Regions from separate parts of the Homo sapiens genome. Here region 1 is linked to region 2. The links are contacts of gene promoters, found by promoter capture Hi-C in blood cells and fetal thymus (Javierre and others, 2016). All regions are on one chromosome and are shown on one strand. The core of a region is centred on a gene start or on the middle of the fragment in contact, and the rest is flanking DNA. Distances in the headings are between cores, read along the strand shown.

The links. The method cuts DNA at HindIII sites, captures the fragments that hold promoters and counts their contacts. A CHiCAGO score of 5 or more calls a contact.
Region 1: the fragment with the promoter of PLEKHS1 here is called in contact with the fragment with the promoter of CCDC186 in region 2 in 6 of 17 cell types (M1 macrophages, megakaryocytes, M2 macrophages and 3 more); the score reaches 7.0 in M1 macrophages.

Annotation. Positions count from the first base shown.
Region 1 is chr10:113,748,997-113,756,212 of GRCh38, forward strand. It overlaps PLEKHS1 (pleckstrin homology domain containing S1), which reads left to right and starts at 2,686. Exons shown (of 13, transcript NM_001395068.1): 1 at 2,686-2,765; 2 at 6,263-6,309. The coding sequence starts at 6,282. The HindIII fragment of the contact is 1,743 bases long and covers 1,077-2,819 here.
Region 2 is chr10:114,172,335-114,178,769 of GRCh38, forward strand. It overlaps CCDC186 (coiled-coil domain containing 186), which reads right to left and starts at 1,869. Exons shown (of 16, transcript NM_018017.4): 1 at 1,681-1,869. MIR2110 (microRNA 2110) reads right to left here and starts at 1,845; the gene lies at 1,771-1,845. It also overlaps a transcript of TDRD1 not described here. RefSeq lists enhancers at 1,551-2,079, 1,675-1,874 and a silencer at 1,935-2,204. The HindIII fragment of the contact is 5,809 bases long and covers 1-3,777 here.

The DNA of each region.
Region 1 (7,216 bases), core at 1,436-3,935, 420 kb before region 2:
AGTCTGATTTCTGTGTGTCACTTACTAGCTGCATGATCCTTAGCTAGTTATTTAATCTCTCTAAATTTAAATTTCCTCTTTTAAAATTAGGATTAATAGATTTTATCCTGCAACAAGGTAGAATTAAATGAGATATTCTATGTAAAACAAAAATCCCCAATAAGTAGTAGGTATTGCCATGCCATATAAACTGTTCGGTTGTGTTTTGGTTAAGAGGCAGCAGAACTCAAGAGCATCTTCATGACAGGAAAGCGCAATTAACAAAGTCATGGAATAACTCATCTGATATTTCAGATGAACAGGCGATTGCTTTTTGTGACAGGTAATTGATACCTTGTTTACAGGTCATTGGAAACAACTTTTAAAAACCTATGCTTGGCCGGGCGCGGTGGCTCACGCCTGTAATCCCAGCACTTTGGGAGGCCGAGGCGGGCGGATCACGAGGTCAGGAGATCGAGACCATCCTGGCTAACACGGTGAAACCCCGTCTCTGCTAAAAATACAAAAAATTAGCCGGGCGTGGTAGCGGGCGCCTGTAGTCCCAGCTACTCGGGAGGCTGAGGCAGGAGAATGGCGTGAACCCGGGAGGCGGAGCTTGCAGTGAGCCGAGATCGCGCCACTGCACTCCAGCCTGGGCGACAGAGCTAGACTCCGTCTCAAAAAAAAAAAAAAAAAAAAAAAACCTATGCTTGTGTTTCATAGGTATGTTTGTTTTGCAAGTTTAGTATTTGGTGTCTGTGCCAGTTTTTGTTTGCTTTTCAGTTTATATTTCATGGGTTTATCTACAGTACAAATAGCTTTGTTAGGCTTCTTCCTCCAAAGAGTTTTGTAATACTATTGGAAAAATAATACAAAAAAGCCTAGAATAGGGTGGGTTGGATGGGTGGGTAGGTGGAGGGACAGACAGATGAACAGGTTGCTGATGGAAAGCACATCTAACTGTTTCATCGGTATCCTTTCCAAAGGAACACAAGTCTTACAGTAATTTTCCCTCTTCCCCTTTTTGGTTAGGTCTCTATATTATAACAATAGGCTGTCTGGACTTTATAGTTCCCAAGTAAGTGGAAATCAGCACAAGCTTTTTATGAACTACTTAGAGCTACAACTGGTATCTGATTAAAATTCTAATGTAAAGACATTAAGACTATCTCCAGAATTATCAAAAGTTAGCCCAAAAGAACATCCAGGAAATTCTGTTAGGTCTATCTCTGTCTTGTTATAAAGAAATACCTGAGATTTGATAATTTATAAAGAAAAGAGGTTTAATTGGCCCATGGTTCTGCAAGCTGTACAGGAAGCATAGTCCTGGCATCTCTCAGCTTCTGAGAAGACCTCAGGGGGCTTTCTTTTACGCATGGTGGAAGGTGAGGCGGGAGTAGCCATGTCACCTGGTGGGAGTGGGAGCAGTAGAGTTGGGGGAGATGCCACACACTTTTAAATAAAGACCTCAGTACAACTCACTATCTCAGACACAGAACCAAGCCATGAGGGATCCACCCCCAGGACCCAACACCTCCAGCCAGACTCCACCTCCATCACTGGGGATTACATCTCAACATGAGATTTGGAGGGGACATCCAAACTATATCAAAATTAAGAAATTGTTTTTCCTAAATCAAGCAAAACTGGTCCTGTGCAGGAAGCAAACAATATATCAATAATTTCTGTATGCCTGAAGTCCAGCTAGGTTTGCTAAATGAAGAAACCAATAACATCTACCCTCCATAGGATGCAAAAGAGAAAAACAAAGAAATACCCTCTGTTGAATGCTAACTGTGGATAAAGCACTGTGCTAGATGCTTTTTATATGTGAAATTTTACTTAACTTTAAAAAAAAATCCTGTGAAGTCAGTATTATCTGTTCCATTTTGCAGATGAGGAAACAGACTCAGAGAACTCCAGTTAACTTGCCAAGACCACACAATGGATCCATGGCAGAGCTGATTCCAGACCAGCTACCCTCGTGAGGATGAGGATTCAAATGATGTACTTTTACTTCTAAAGGCAGTAGAACAGGATAAAATTCATCATCACTTCTTCCTCTCCCCTAGAAATCTGTAATACACATGAAAATATACCTAAGACCCTTTGGTGGCTGGATACCACTCACCAGGTCTAAGAATGATGGTTTGCTCAATTGCTGTTGGTGGCTGTGCAGGGGAACATGCCTAGCGCCACCCTGTTGATGGTAACACTCTGTCATGGCTGAATGAGCAACTCTTCCTGGAAACCATTGGCATGTACAAGTGTTTAGAGAAGCCAGGCTTTTGTTTCCTCATCTGGTACAAAGGAACCCTTTCTACCCTTCCCAGGAAGACATTGGTTAAGATATGGCTGAGGGAGGCATAGGGATTTTTTTTCAATGGTAGTCACCACAGACGGTTGAGGGTAAATTGGCGTTGTTCTCAATAAGGGTTATTGTGACCATGGTCCAAAGTCTGGCAGGAATTTTTTTTTATTATTAATGTGTTTGCTTTCATTTTTGGTGCTAGGCAGCTGGGACACCAAGGAGAGTTCTGTGGCAAGCCACAAGTATGAAGGCCCAGAACTTCCCCTGAGGGCATAGCTTCCATTTCAGTTTGGGGCAAGAATAAAATCTGCTCAAGGATATTAGTTTGGGAACTTCCTGGTGGTTCAGATTTCAAGCAGAGTTTGTGCTTAATCCTCACCCAGGCACCAAGGCTCAGAGTCAGCAGGAGTGAGTTCAGGAATCCTCGGGACAAGGCACTTTCCTGAGCACTGGACCAGCGACCTCTTGGCTTCCAGTAAGTACTGCTTGGTGTATCTGGTTTGGACTTCCAAGGCTGGGATGATCTAGAAGCTTTTTTGCAATTGAACAATTGCAAAATTGGAAATGGAAAATTTTGCAGATATGCTGTATTTCTGTTATGGGCACTTTCTTCATAAGCTTCCTAGGCTATACTATAGTCAGAGGGAAATAGGACTGACCTCTTGGTATACTGTATTCACCAAATCCAAAATAATGTTATAATAAATGGGTCAGGCAGTGACTGTGGGGAGATTCTCCTGAATGAGATCAAACAGCTAAATCAGAAAGGCTTTCTTTTTTGTTTGGGGGCAATGACAAGAAAAACAAGCAGAACTATGAAAAGACTTAATTCTACTTTCTTAGATAGGAGGAAAAGCAAAGTAGTTAAGGCCAGCTCTCAAGCTAGAATTCTGGTTCTGCTTCTTTTTAATTACATGATCAAAGTAAAGTTGTTTAATCTCTCCGATAACCATTTCCTCGTCTGTAAATGGGCATTGTATCATTGTGAAAACAGTGCAAGCTTTAGAGTACGGTTATGAGGTTAGGATGAGATTTTATATGTATATGTGAAATTATATGTATACATATACATAAAATCTTTCATATACATATTGCTTAGAAGTGCCTGGAATGTATTAAGTACTCAAAAAATGCTACCCATTATTAAACAACCATAGAATCATAGAATATCTGAGCTGGAAAGGACCTAACAACTAGCATTTATTGAGCTTCTATTATGTACTGAGGAGTGCTCATCAACAGGGTATCTCAAGTGATACTCCCAGCAATCTGATGAGGGTAGTAATAACCTTCATGTTACAGATGAAGAAATGGAGGTGTAGAGAAGTATTATAAAGTATCCAAGATCACATTCCTCATAATTCATGGAGATGAAATTTAAACCCAGATGCCAGAGCTAACACTCTAAACCACCACACCCTACTGCCTTATCTGTCCTCTCATTTTACGGTGGGTGGGGAGATGAAGGAGGAATGGTTGCAGCACATGACTCTGGAGCCCTTTGCAGACACTGGAAGGACAGAGATGTCCTCCAAAGCACACTTTGACATCCACAGGGCACAGGGAGGGCAAATGTTATTTGGGAGTGTCCATGAGCATGAATGTGGTGCTGTGTGGAGTTCTGCCAGGGGACCTAGGTCCAAGTCATCTCAGTCTTCTCTCAAATGCAGCTTTTCATTTGTAAAATGAGCTATCTCAGAATGAAGCCATTCTGAACACAAAAAAATAATGTATGCAAATGCATTTTATAAACTTTAAAGGCTTTAGAAATATTTTTTAAAATGATTTTTTGGCTTTTTGACAAACAGCAGCTCAAAAACAGCTTGCAGTAAACACTGCTTTAAAATATGCCACCCACAGCTAATCTCTCCTGCACATTTCTCCGATTGGATCCTTGAGGGCCATCACTCATTAGGCTAACAGCTGCATAGGGGGCGTGGCCAAGTCCTATAAACATGGACAGAGGGAAAGGTGATGGGTTGAAAACCGCTTGTCCCCAGCTCTTCAGGCAGTGAAATCCTTGAAACTGGAAAGAACCTCATGGATTTGATAAGAAATCTCAGGGATAATTTTTTAAATATTATCCATGCATTTTGGGGAGTGGGCAAGGTTTTGAAGAGGTTACGTTCTCTTTCTCACACAGAATTGCTCTTCCAGGAAACAACAGCCTTCGGCCTCAATAGCTTGGCATCTTTCCCAGGCATTATAGCTCATTGCACAGAGCTGAGTGTGCCCGCTACAGCAGGCGAGGGCTAAGGGCACCGGTTCTTCAACATATGCCTTCAGATGCCCGAGAAAAGTTGTAATTTGTTCAAATGATCACTACTGTGATTATACAGGATACCTCAAGGGAGAAAATCTTTCCCTAGGGGCAGGGTAGGTATGATTCCAGGGTCCAGGAAAGCCATCCCACTGGTCTTCAAAGAGCTTCCAAATGCTCTGACAAACCACCAAAAGCATATCTTAGAACTTGTCTTAATCTTAGGATTTTCATCTCTGAACACATATATATATATATTTGTATTATATATTTTTTTTATTTGAGATGGAGTCTTGCTCTATCACGCAGGCTGGAGTGCAGTAATGTGATCTCGGCTCACTACCTCTGCCTTCTGGGTTCATGTGATTCTTCTGCCTCAGCCTCCCAAGTAGCTGGGATTACAGGTGCCCGCCACCACGCTCGGCCAATTTTTGTACTTTTAGTAGAGATGGGGTTTTGCCATGTTGGCCAGGCTGGTCTGGAATTCCTGACCTCAAACAATCCGCCCACCTCAACCTCCCAAAGTACTGGGATTACAGGCATGAGCCACTGCACCCAGCCTGAATATATGTATTTTTTCATCTCTGTATATGCATATACACACACGTAATTAAAGAATTGCTGTAAGTCATCTACATGTTAGGAAGGAAGAATGAGTTTATGTTGAAGAAAGGGAGAGGTCAGGAGGGTCAAGGGCCTCTGCTTCCTCCCCCATCTTACTTGGGGCTGCTTGGGCACCTCCCTTTTCAGGGCCTTCTATTTTGAGAGTCTTACTAACTTAAGGTAAAAGTTAGTCATACCAAATTTGTGGTTTCAAAGACCTCACTTGCCCTGCAGCCCTTCCCCTGAGGGAGTCCCTTCTCTCCATCCTATGATGGTCATAGGATCGCCAGCAGCTGGCCAGGAAAGGATGCTGCCTCTCAGATTCAGTTTCTCCAGGTTATCCTCAGGAGTCTTGCTCTGTCGCCCAGGCTGGAGTGCAGTGGAGTGATCTCGGCTCACTGCAACCTCCGCCTCCCGGGTTCAAGCGACTCTCCTACCTCAGCCTCCTGAGGGATTACAGGCGAGCACTAGGATTACAGGTGCCCACCACCACACCCGGCTAATTTTTGTATTTTTAGTAGAGATGGGGTTTCACCATGTTGGTCAGGCTGGTCTCGAACTCCTGACCTCATGATCTACCCGCCTCAGCCTCCCAAAGTGCTGGGATTACAGGCATGAGCCACCGTGCCTGGCGGTCCTTGTTCTTAAGTTTCCCCTGGAGAAAGCAAGCCCCTGGGCATGGAGAAAGGCTTATCTTGGGCTTCCTCTCAGCCAGTGATGCTTTCTCGGCTACGTTGGCTCCATGGCATCCTGCCCTTTGCCCTGTTCTTATCTCTCCTTTGTGTTGCCATCCGCCAGCTCTCTTATCAAAGCAGTAAGAACAGAGAAAATCCCAGGAAGACAAGCTCCTTCAGTCTTCTCAACAACACCTCCGCAGAACCACCCACTGTGTGAGGACAAGCTGCTTAGATGTGTCCCCGTTACTGCAGCTACCGTCAGCCTCAGGAACAGGGAGGGAAATACTAAAGAAAGGATGGGAATGGGAGACTCACAACCCATCTCAGCAACATTCGTGAGCACAATCCTGATACTCACTGACCAGCGGTGGCTGGTCAATGAAACACACGTAGTGTTGTTTGGGGACTAACACTAACCCTTCCTTTTGACAGGGGAGGACACACAGCCATCATGGAACCCAAACCTCAGAAGAGTCCAGGTACCCGAGGGGTATAATCGCAGAAGCAGAAATCTTTTTATTGAAAATGCCCCACGGTTTCCTTCAAGCTAACCAGGATACAGAACTTGGTGGTTTTTGTGTATGTTGTTTTGTTTTGTTTTGTTTGAGACAGTCTTGCTCTGTTGCGTAGGCTGGAGTACAGTGGCACGATCTAAGCTCACTGCAACCTGCCAGCTCAAGTGATCCTCTAACCTCAGCCTCCCGAGGAGCTGGCACTACAGGCATATGCCACCATGCCTGCCTAATTTTCGTATTTTTAGTAGAGACGGGGTTTCTCCATGTTGGTCAGGCTGGTCTCAAACTCCCGGCCTAGGTGATTCCCCACCTCTCAGCCTCCCAAAGTGCTGAGATTACAGGCATAAGCCACCATGTACAGCCCCAGAACCCAGGTGGGGATAATGGGTGGCATTCTGTGACAATGATTCTTGGTTTGGAGAATGTAGCAGGAACTGTTGGATTCAATTAATTATTGTGTAAGAGTTTACCTGTCTAGAAGTTTAGCATTTTCTGATTTTCATGAGCCAAATTTTCCATTCATTGCCCAAAGATGATGTTAATAGCAAACTATGGGCCAGCAAAGACTGGAGAACATTTTCTTAATTTTACGTGAAACTCACACTTAGAGAAGTGCCTGCATTGTCACCAGGGCTTATTATGAGGGTAGCTCAATGTATGGTATCAAGTATCCTTGCTCTTATTCATACACTTCTTTGTAGATGAGTGGATAGAAAAGCTAAGTTTAGGATGAAGTCACTTAGAAGTTAAATTATCCAATTCAACTCAAAAATGTTTACAAAGCACCTATTACTAGTGAGTCTTTGTGCTTTATGTTGCAGGGGATATACAGATTAATAAATAAGAGTCATTGCCCTCAAAGAGTTTTAAA
Region 2 (6,435 bases), core at 619-3,118:
GTCAGCATAAAGCTGCAAATAGATGTTTCTAAACTGAACATACTAAGCAATCATTAGCTATGCTGTCACTGCATAGCATTAAAGGACAACTCTACTTTATGGGTGAAAGAACTAAAAGGTTAGAGTGGTCACTGTGATACACACCAGCCAACCCTTTCCGTTAGCAATAAATAGGACTCAAAAGCCAATGACACACTATGGAATCTCCACTGTTTAAAGAAACCTTAAGTTTATATGCAGTTATTCTGAATTTAACAGGGCCTTTAAAAAACAAACACAATCCATGCATTTCCAGGGAGAATCTTCAGTAATCATACGTTTGCCTATTATGCTGTAAAAAGTTTTAATTCTTAATACTGCAAGATTCGTGATCTAATATCTTCACTGCATTAAAAATAACATGAAAAGACCAGAAATAAAAGAGAAAAATGAACCTAGCCAATCATTACTGTTTTTTATTTGTGTAATGTTGGATAAAGAATTGAAGTTACACAGGGAACAGTGTACATTACACACAGAGATAGTTCAGTTTCACTATCAATCTCTCTTGAACCTGAATCCTTCCCACGAGATGAACACTCGGTAAATATTAAGGTGTACTTGATAGTTGGGAAAGCCACACCCACAACTAGCATACCTAAATAGATAATAGCAGATTAATTTCTTCTGAATGACTACCAGCACACCTCTTGAAACCCTGATTTACTGAACACCTTAGAAGACAACACCCGGCCTATCGTTTTGGAAGAAAAAAAAGCTGGGCATCAAAGGAACATGACACACATGCAGAGAAAACGGCCAAGTACCTGGGACTGTACTGCGTATTTTTACTATATTCTCTCTTCTGATTTCCACAGGTAACAAGATTATCAAGTGAAAGAAGTAGGATTCTAATCCAGATGTTCTGACTCGAAATCCAGGACTTTTTCCTCTAAACAAAATCAAGATGGGAATATTAGGTGAAGTTGTTAAACTGTTAACAGCTAAGCAATACTCACACCTGCACTGTTTCCCAAGATTGCTACTTAGGGACACGTAGAAGGGTTTTTGTTTTGTTTTTGCCATTTTTCATTACTGATGGAGACATAAATCTGAAACCCCTTCCTTACCAACCAAGGTTTATGAAATGCCTTGACGTCCTTGAAAGACAACATAAAGAACAGTATCCACCACTCCAAAGAATCACTTCTAAGGAACTTAGAATCACAGTAATGGAAGTGTTTGGAAGAGGGTAACAAGTCTTCACAACAGTAAATATAAAACACCCACATACAGTCAACTTGAGACGAAAAACGAAATAGGCGATTGAGTCTAGGAAAGATTCTCGAGCAGGTAGGGCTTGGCTGCAGTTCACACGCAGCCCAGGCAATGGGCTCGAATTCAGACGCTCTCGAGGCACAGCCCCCACGACCCCCGCTGACCCCTCTTTGCCACCTCCAAGGTCCCGGAACCGAAGGAGGAAGGCAGGGAGAGGAAAGGGCTTGAAACCCGTTCCCCAGCCCTCCCCTTCCTCCGCGCCCTCAAAGGAGCCAGGCGGGGAGCCCGCTCGACCTCGACCTCCACCTCGCACTCGCCCTCGCCCCCGCCACGGAACGTGCAGGAAGGAGCGGAAGGCTGGCAGCCCCACCGCACCGCCACCGCGACTCACCGGTGTGCCCCGAGTACCCCTCAGACACTTACCCCACTTATCCAAGCCTCAGGCCACGCCCTAACAAGGCTGCTGGAGCTCTGGCTCAGGGGCCAACTTTTCCATAGCGGGGTCCAACCAGCCAAGAGTGGGAGGAAAAGACCGCGGTGAGAAACACAGCCGACGCCTCACTCAGCGGCCGTTTCCCCAAACCCCTGCGGAGCTGACACATCAACAAAGATGGCGGCGACACTGAAGCCGGCCCGGTTACAGCTGAGGGGGCGGGGGCTCCCTGGAGGAACCAATCAGCGCAGCGCGGGCGGGGTGACGCAGCACACCTTGAGGTCCTGGGTAACCTGTCTGCAGTGGGCTGGGCTGGCGGAGCTCACCTCCCACCTCCCGGCCCAGGAGGCCCCACCTTGCGGCCCGAGAGGCCCCGCCCCGCACTCCGCCTGGCTGGGCACCCACGCCTCCGCGACCTGGAGAGCCGGGTCTCCTGCCCTTTGGTCGGGTTCTTCCTTTCAAGCTCCTCCGGACCCACGCAGCCTGTTTCTTTCTGCAGGACGCTCTTGTTGGCTATTACTCCTCCTCACCCTTTGGCCTGCATGAGTCAGGGACATAAAGCAATAAAAGAGAATTTGAAATTGTGGCTTCCCGGCTCTCATGCGGAAACCTTGCACCTTACGTGGGCGGAGTCGGCTGGAGCAGGCTACGATGGGGGAGACCTCTGGGGGTTCCATAACAGCGCGTTCGTGTCTTCAGCGTGGCGCTGCTGCCATTGTTTAATAATAAACTGTCGGTGCCTTCGTCTCTGGCTTCAAGCTGAGCGCATTGATGGTAGGAAGTGTCCTCTCCCGGCTGAGTAACCTGGCACGCAGCATGGCAACAAAAAGTGTATTGGGTACAGTTGCCTCGCCCGGCCCAGAGAAGGAAGGTCAGCAGTTCAGTCTCTGGAGGTTTCGCAAACCTCCTCAGTCCGGGGAAACGATGTTCTTTGGTTTAGGTCTTACACATATCTCATGAATGAAAATAGCTGATGCAGACGATTCTGCAATGTAAGAATTTGTAAAGCAAAACTTACTACTGTTCTGTTAAGCGTCTTCGATACTGTTGGCAAAACACACACACGGAGGTGTAATGGCACCTCACTCCTCCTTAAATGAAGGTACTACACTGAAGCACATTTTGCAGTTAAAGTGTCTTGTCATAGAAAATAAATGATTTGACTTTAAAACAATAAATCGACCAAGCCTTCCTAGGGAGACATTAATCCAAGGGGAAAAAACTGAAGAAACCTTAAGCTGTTTTCGGTACTCGTCAGTAATAACATAGGTATTACTATTTCTGAATATTTCTGAATTTATAATTAGTATAAAGTATATAAATATATCTTTGTGAACCAAGTTTTTCACCATAAGAGAAAAGAAATACAAATATAAACCAAAGACATTATATTAAAATTCTGCAATCCTATATTTGAATTTACAAATATCAGAATTAACTCATGGTACATTTTTTTCGTGAAAAAAAAGGTGTGTCCACTGAAAACTCTTAGAACAGTGACCAACCCATTGCACACTCCTATTCCCCAGATTGTGATCTCTAAAGAGCATTGCCCAAAAAAAGTTACCTTGGCTTCTCTTGGAGGTTAAGTGCTGATTCCCAGTAGGGGCAAGAAATATGCAAGATAGCCTAGGACATATTGCTTGTAGCAGAAAGCAAGGAAGAAAAGCAAAGATAACATGAACTGTACCCAAAAGACTCAGAAGGCAGTTCAAAGATGCCCCAACTTCTCAAACAGGACAAATTTAGCATTCAAAAATAATAACAGCAACTGGTTGAGACGCACTATGTAAAAAAATCAGTGAGTGCATTTATTTTTTTTAATGTCATTGACCCTCTTGGAAAGATGCCAACAAGTCATTACAATCTGAGAACTGATAAAGAATCAAGCATTCATCCTACCTTTCCTGTTGCAAACTGAATGTCAATCAAATAGTCAATGTGGGGAAGCTCTTCTCTGTAGAACTCCATGTAATAATTGCAGAAAGAAAGATAGATGATCACCATTTTGCAAACCCTGATGAAATAATGGATCTAGGTAATGGTCATCTGTGAATCTAGAACCATTAGATGAAAAACTGATAGGAAGCTTCGTATTGTAATGGATGGATGGGGCTGGCACCACTTGAACCTACTAGATCAATCTTAATATCCTCCAAAGTGAAACAACTACATACTATGTATTTTCTGAAATGCTACAATAGAGAAGCACAACACCACCTGTGAAGTATTCCTGCCGGGGGATGCAATCAACAAAATTGAATGGAAAAAAAAAAAAACCCTGCAGTTACTGTAATAAATAAATTGCAAGAGAAGTACAGGATTTAAAGAGAAACCCCTTTTTAAAATATATCACTGAGTGCAAATACAGGATGTTTTGATACTGATTTGAACATATCAACGATTTAAGATAACATCTGAATGGCTGGGTGTGGTGGCTCACACCTGTAATCCCAGCCCTTTGGGAGGCCAAGGTGGGCTGCTTGAGCTCAGGAGTTTGAGACCAGCCTGGACAACACAGTGGGATCCCATCTCTAAAAAGAAAATTAAAAAATAACATTTGAGGTATCTGGAAATGTTTAGTATTAATTTTATGATATTAAGAAATTATGGCCAGGCACTATGGCTCACACTTGTAATCCCAGCTACTGAGGCAGGGTGATGGCTTGAGTCCAGCAGTTCAGGACTGCAGTGAACTATGACTGTGCCACTGCACTCTAGTCTGGGCGGCAGAGCAAGACCCTTTCAGAAAGAAAGGAAAGGAGAGGAAAGGAGAAAAAGGAGAAAAGAAAGGAAAGCAAGAGAAATTATTGTTTTTAAAGTTGGGATATGTTTTGGTGATATTACTTAAAAAGTGGTAATCTCTTAAAGACACCTACTTACAATATTTTTGGATGAAAAGATACAATATCCCAGAAAGTAATAAAGTGCTTAACAAACAAAATACCACCTGATGATAGTATGTGAAGGAACAGAAACCAACTGAAAGAGCTTCCTGTGGCCAAAGCTGGAAAAATCTGAGCAAGGAAATACAGTAGTTTTGGATTAGAAAAGTATAAAATAAGAAAAAAAAAGTATAAAATAAATATCCGAGTCCGTTATTAAATTAGTAAATGGAGAAGAGACAAATCTCCCATGCAGAAGAATTTCAAATAATTTCTGCAGATACTGCATCCTCAAAGAGGGACAACATAACTCCCTACTCCTTAAATGTGGGCTTCAAATAATAGCTTCCTTCCAAAGTGTATAGTATGAAAAGGGAAGGGAAAAAAAAGAATATAGTAGAAAGACCCAACAAACACTACCACAGCCAGATGACCAAATCCTACATCAATTGTCATAATCATATTCATAGGATGTATGCTTGATATGATGCAATAAAAATGGCATTTTTACCTCTGTGGTCTTCCTTCCAATAACCCGTAACTCCTTTCCTACCAGCAGAAAAACATCAGACAAATTCCAAAAGTAGGGCATCCTACAAAAGGCCTGAGAGTACTCCTGGAAACTTGACATCAAGGTCATCAAAACAAAGTCTAAGGAAGTCCCATGGCCAAGAAGAGCCTAAGGATCCATGAAAACTAAATGTAATATGATATCCTGATGAGATCTTGCATCAGAAAAGGGACAGTAGGTAAAAACGAAGGAAATCAAAAAGATGGGCTTTAGTTAATACTGTATCAATGTTGGTTCCTTGGTTCCTTAATTATAACAAATGTATCATGCTAACAGACCATGCTAATAATAGGGGAAACGATGTGGCTTCTGTCAGAACTCTGTACAGCACCTTCTTTTCTTTCTTTCTTTTTCTTTTTTTTTTTTTTTTTGAGACAGTCTTGCTCTGTTGCCCAGGCTGGAGTGCAGTGGCAGTGATCTTGGCTCGGTGAAACCTCCGCCTCCTGGGTGCAGGCGATTCTCCTGCCTTAGTTTCCCAAGTAGCTGGGATTACAGGCGCCTGCCACCACACCCAGCTAATTTTTTTTTATTTTTTTATTTTAAGTAGAGACGGGGTTTCACCATGTTGGCCAGGCTGGTCTCGAACTCCAGACCTCAAGTGATCTGCCTGCCTCGGCCTCCCAAAGTGCTGGGATTACAGGCATGAGCCCCCACGCCCAGTCAGCACTTTCATTTCACTATTCTGTAAATCTGAAACTGCTCTAAAAAATAAATTTAAAAGACACATCAACTAAAGAAAAAAAATCAGGCTTTTAAAGAATTGAAGTTAGTGAAGTTAGTTTTATTCAGAGTCTTACTGAGGACTGCAACCAGGGAGAGCCCAGAGAATTTCTGTTAAACTACTCCAAAGCAGTGGGTCAGCACACTTTAAATATTAGGTGGTAGAGGTTCTGCCCAGGGGTTACATTAAAAGTGCCCAGAAGCTATATAAGATCAAAATATTTTCAAAGTTTGGGTGCGAGAGTAAGTCTAGGCATCATCATTAATCTTGTCCGTTAGGTACAGAAAAAGGCAAGGCCTAGATCTCTGAAAGTATCTTTTCTAAAAATGCAGTGACTCTGAGAGGTGGGAACCTGAGTTCTCTCCGCAGTCTTCAAGGCATTCTTCTGGAGGGCTGAGATGTTACTAAGTCAAGGGGTCTGAAATGCTGACAAACACAGTGAACAAACGTGGCTTTTTCACAGTGAGGGAGGACTATGCTGGGGGCCAGAAGCAGACGTTCGCTACTTTGTCTCACATTTACAATTCTCGGATTTGCTTCAAAACATTGCCCGAAGAGTGCCTGGGCT